2 separate regions of the Homo sapiens genome follow, and region 1 is linked to region 2. The links are contacts of gene promoters, found by promoter capture Hi-C in human tissues and cell types (Jung and others, 2019). All regions are on one chromosome and are shown on one strand. The core of a region is centred on a gene start or on the middle of the fragment in contact, and the rest is flanking DNA. Distances in the headings are between cores, read along the strand shown. Region 1 holds the start of INTU (inturned planar cell polarity protein). Region 2 holds the start of PLK4 (polo like kinase 4).

Region 1 (2,700 bases), core at 154-2,653, 250 kb after region 2:
TTGTCCCTCTTTGAAAACCTTACTCATAATCGCTACTCGCTGAGGAATATGAACCCGAGTCGCTGACCCGATCTTCAAAATCATAGTCCTCATCTTCTTCTTGTGAAGAGGGGTCTCCAGGGAGCTCGTCTGAGCTCGGACGCGAATCGCACGAAGCCACAGAGGCCATCGTCAGGAATGCAATAGCTACGAGTGGAGTAATTCAAATCTCGCAGCTATAGCTTGCTAAGGCCGCCATGTTGCCTCTGCTTGGGAAGGGGCAGAGGCCATGTGACCACCAATCCTTAGCTGCAATTGGTGGCAGGTCGCGTTGCCAGGGAGACGGAGAAGCTTCCCAGAAGAAACAGGGAGAACAGAAAGCAGCCAATGGGCTGAAACTTCCAGGAGGGCTTCTCAGTTGGAAGGATAGAAATAGCTAAAACTTCACCGCTTACGCTCTCCGGAACGCAATTCCTTAGAGCAGCATAACCTGTTAAAACAGGCGGAGATGCACTGGGCTTCTCACCTTTTTCTTCCAGTGCTGGATATCCAGTTTGCTCTTTGTCCTGTGTTTCTAATGCCTAACAGCTGTCGGTCAGCCTGGATTTCCTTCGAGGTGAAGGAAACCGCACTTTACCTTTCCTTAGGACCTCATCCGTGCAAGTAATGGACGCTTTTAAGCAACGCGATCTAGGTGTTAATGTAAATACGCTCCATTGTTTTATGGGTTTCATATTGTTTCGCAATTGCAAACATTTTCACGGTTATCCCAAGTGGGTATTGTAGAGTGCCACAAATGAGTGGCAATCCTGTGGAATCAACTTCATGTTCATTTTCTAACTCAAAATTTTATAATCTAATTAAGTGTTCTCATTATTAAAGTTGGAAGTGTAAACAGGTAAAATCTACCTGTTATTTATGAATACCTATATCAAGTATTTTTTAAGTACAAAAATAACAGCTAGCATTGATTGAGAGTCAGCCTTGGCTCTGCTCACTTTATTCATATACAATGCTGAGCATTCACATACTATGAAGTAAATATTTTCTCTATATTAAATAAGGAAACTAAGCTTTAGAGAAGTTATGCATCTTACTAATGGTTACATGGCTAGCAGTCAACAAAGTCAACCAAGAAATGAACCTAAGTCAATAACCATTACATGAAATTTCCTCCCTCAGAACCCAGTAATTCAACTATTAGATATCTACTCTGAGAAAGGATGCAAATTTATAAAATTTGTAAAAGTGAAAAGCTGAAAGCAATCTTAAAATGTCAAATAATGGGGGAAAAGTTAAATATATATAAAATATGATGATTATGATTTTAACTAGAATGTGTTCAAAGAGTAAAGCATGGGGGAAATGTTCATGTTGCAGCGTGTAAAAAAAGGATATAATGTTATTTTATGATCTAAAAGGCTGGGTGCTGGGGATTCTCTAATGGGCAATTATAACATAGTGATAAGTATTACAATAAATACAAGGTTCTAATGGAATATCCAGAAAAAACCAAAGTAGTATACGTGGGGCCATGACAAATTTCTTAGAGGAAGTATTAATTTATATTGTTATTATGGCATGGTTCCAACAGAGAAAGAGTAATGGGAGATGAGTCATCACATGGCCGGTATGGGTATATGCATGGAGAACTCAAAGGAACCTGAATTGTAGCTGTTGCAGGGGCAGAAAAACTCTACCTCCATCTTCTTAGGGTCCCAGCTGGGCCTGAGAATTAAACTTACCTAAAATAGATTAACAAAAGAAAAGCAACTGGAACTTGTTATACAGATGTTGAGGCCCTGCTCCACATCAACAGGATCAGAATCTCCAGTGGAGGGGCCTGGAAATCTCTATTTCAAACAAGTGCCCCCTGTGATTCAGCAAACTTGGGGAACTGCCCTAAATTTTCTCTCAGTTCTGTGCTTCATCTATACAGGCCAACTGGCCATTCCCTGAATAGGCTGGAACCCACTCCCACCTCGCAAATTTGAGCCTGGCAGACAGACCTCTCTCCTTGCTCTAGAATCCAAGTTTTACATGGCAGGGGAGCCCTCATAAAGAAATGAAGACCCAAAGAAGCAGTTAGAGTCAGTTAACTTATATACTGGATTGGACAAAGAATAGTTAGTTGTGAAGAAGCAACTAAACTAAATTGGGAAGCTTAAAAGATAAGTTATTTTAACAAGGTCTGTACAGAATTCTCTTGGTTTCACTTCTATGCCCTTGAGAATAAGAATGTTACATTTTTCTAGTATAGGGAGGGTGTCTTTCACATGGGAGCTTCATCTGTTGCTTTTAAGAAGCAGCACAAAGGCACTTGCTGTTTTTCAAGTGTATTAAACTTAAATGGCCAGGATAGTATATTTTACCTTCCTCACAGCCAAACAAGCTGCAGTATGCAGCTTATACTTTTAAGCTGAAGTTTAGTTGTATTTACATTAACTGTACATTACATGTACAAATATACATTAAACTATGTACATTTGAATTTGTATATTACATGTACAAATGTACATTAAACTATATACATTTGAATTTCCTAGGTTTTATGGTTTTGTTTTAATTTCTAAATGTGTTTTTATAGTGTTATAACAGCGATTACATTTTGTAATTTATTTGTATTAATTCATAAAATTGTTTTCATCTTATATAGGAGCTATAAAGCACAGATTATACCTCATTTATTTAAAATTATAATTAAAAAACTTAAGTCATCCA
Region 2 (2,729 bases), core at 19-2,518:
TACGAGGTCTACTGAACATTAATGAAGATAAAACTTACTTAAGCAAGGTCAAGGCTTTCCTAAAATATTTTTAAGTTCAACGGCTGGACTTGGCACTATTGTCTTCTGCCTATGTAAAGTGTTCCTTACACTATAATCAAAGGAAAGGCTAGTAGACAAGGAGTTTCTGACATCTCTGATACCTCTCTAGTTACTTGCAAAGTACAGGAGAGAAGTTGATTAGTTTATTCTTACCATTTTGATTGCAACTTCCAAACCAGTGTGAATGGACTCAGCTCTGTAGACACCAGCAAATGATCCTTTACCAAGCAGATTTCCAACTTTAAAATCCTTAAAAGTTAAAATTAAAGATTATGTGTGATGACTCACAGTAGAAAGGAAGATGGGAAGGGGCTGGAAAAAGAAGATAAAATGGATCGAGTGGGGAATTTGACAAAATTCAAGCGGGTATTACACCTCGATGCAGCAGGTGTCTAGGGTGGAAGGCATGTTGACTCCGTGCGGGGATACCTGCGCTTCCAGGCTGGACTGGAAGCTCAGGGTGATGGTGCACCCTAGTGATCTGGTTCCTCAACCTCAGTGCAGCCTAAGCGCCCTCCTCCCATCTCCAGCCAATCCCCGGGAGCGGAGGGCTCGGTCAGAATCCCGCCGCAGCTCCCGCCGGAGATAACCGCCATCCCCTTGGAGAAGTGGGAGGTAGCCCTGCCCTGCTCTAACGCGGTAGCTCGGGCGGGATTGCTGAAAGAAAGCCGCAGTGCCTCGGGACACTGCCGGGCGGGGAGGGACTCACCTGTCCCGCCTTCCCTACTCTTGTCTCTTGAGGGGCGGGCCGCTCCGCCCCTAAACAGCAGGGGTCTGGGCCGTTGGGACCCTCCCTAAGCACCTCGGTGCCCGCCCCGCAGCCGTTAGCTTCGTTCGCTCCCCTTCCCACAGCGGTCTCGTGTCCTCCCACAATTACTCCCACCCGCCCCGCTGCAGACTGCCGAGTCTTTTCACCTCGATCTTCTCCCCGATGCAGGTCGCCATATTTCCAGGCTCTGGCCTGGGTTCTCCGGATTAGCTTCCTTCACGCAGTCCCTTCGAGGCAGCGCTCCAAGCAGCCAGCCGGCCTTGGCGCCCATCAGGCTCGGCTCTCTAAACCGCCGCTCCAGGCGACGACGCTGAAACCACGGAAAGTTCTCCCTGACACCTTCCGAGGCCTGGGCGGTGCCTCTGGGCTCCCATTTTGAAAATCTCCCGCCGCTTGCCGTCCGAGCTAGGCTGGTGGTGACGTAACGAGATGGATCGCTCCGGATAGGCTGCGCCGGGGCGCGCATGCGCGGCAGACCTTCCTTTGCGGCCGGCCCAGGGTTCTAGACTTCGGGGCCAAGGGCCGGAAGCGCTGCGGAGAGTTTAGTTCGGGCGGGAGGCTGTCTCGGGCCCACTCTCGGAAGAACTTCTGCAAGACGGGTAAAAGAGCAGGCCTTAAAGATGGGACACTTATGGCTGATCGGTTACTTCACGGTCCGAAATACCACTTCTAATTCCGGAAAGGGTTTAAAACTATTTTAAAATGTCAAGCGTTTAAGACTTGACGGAACAGGGCAAAAAACATTACCTTCCTTTAAGGAACACCGTTTACACCACTACCGCTTATTCCGTAGTTTGTTATAACTGTAGTTAATGTGTACGGTACCTTAAGAAAACGAACTCCATTCTTTATTTTGGCAAACTCCTAAGTATTTAATATTATAATGTCATTTGTATAATAATTTACAGTTAGATCTCTCATACACATAATTTGTATGGATCAAAAGAGACCTCTGTAAGTTTGGGATGGTGTTTTGCAGGTGAGAAAAGTGTGATGCTTAAGGAAGGATATTTAACAAACAGAAGTAGCGCACAAACTTAGATCTTCTGTTATTAAGTGAAAGCTCTTTTCCTTGATGTTAGTGTGTATTTCTTTTTCTTTTTCTTTTTTCTTTTGAGATGGAGTCTCGCTCTGTCGCCCAGGCTGGAGTGCAGTGACTCGATCTCGGCTCACTGCAGCCTCCATCTCCTGGGTTCCAGCGATTCTCCTTCCTCAGTCTCCCGGGTAGCTGGGATTTACAGGTACGCGCCACCACGACTGGCTAATTTTTGTATTTTTAGTAGAGACGGGGTTTCACCATGTTGGCCAGGCTGGTCTCGAACTCCTGACCTCAGGTGATCCGCCTGCGTCGGCTTCCCAAAGTGCTAGGAATACAGGCGTGAGCCTCCATGCCCGGCCCATTTTTTTTTTTAAACTTTTTAGTTTCAAATAATTTTAAGCTTACAGAAAAGTTGTAAAAATAATAGAGAACTCCTGTTGTCCTTTACTCAGATTAACCAATTCTTAACATTTTGCCACACTTGTTTTTACTATTCTTCATGTGTAATATACATGTATAAATATATAAATAAGCCTATTATTTGTATTTTATGAATCATTCTAAAATAGGTTACATACACTATGCTCTTATACCCCTTATTTCTAAAGTGTGAATTTCTTAAGAACCAGGGTATCCTCTTGTATGTTTATCAAATTAAGGATATTTAGCATTGATACAATATTTATATTTAATCTAATCTACAGTTCATATTCCGATTTGTCAATTGTTCCAGTAATGTCTTTATTTAACATTTTTTCCTTCCAGTATAGATCTAGTACAGGATCACATACCGTATTTAGTTACCATATCTTTTTAATTTCCTTTAATATGGAAGAGTTC

Evidence for each region. Contacts are between HindIII fragments. The study calls those that stand out against the background at their distance.
Region 1: a contact is called between a fragment that was not itself captured here and the fragment with the promoter of PLK4 in region 2, in 1 of the 25 tissues and cell types used here (hippocampus).

Annotation. Positions count from the first base shown.
Region 1 is chr4:127,630,504-127,633,203 of GRCh38, reverse strand. INTU (inturned planar cell polarity protein) reads right to left here and starts at 247. Exons shown (of 16, transcript NM_015693.4): 1 at 24-247. The coding sequence starts at 169. RefSeq lists enhancers at 218-397, 60-599. The HindIII fragment of the contact is 3,914 bases long and covers 1-2,700 here.
Region 2 is chr4:127,879,432-127,882,160 of GRCh38, reverse strand. It overlaps PLK4 (polo like kinase 4), which reads right to left and starts at 1,268. Exons shown (of 16, transcript NM_014264.5): 1 at 997-1,268; 2 at 235-330. The coding sequence starts at 1,026. RefSeq lists an enhancer at 945-1,184. The HindIII fragment of the contact is 10,406 bases long and covers 1-2,729 here.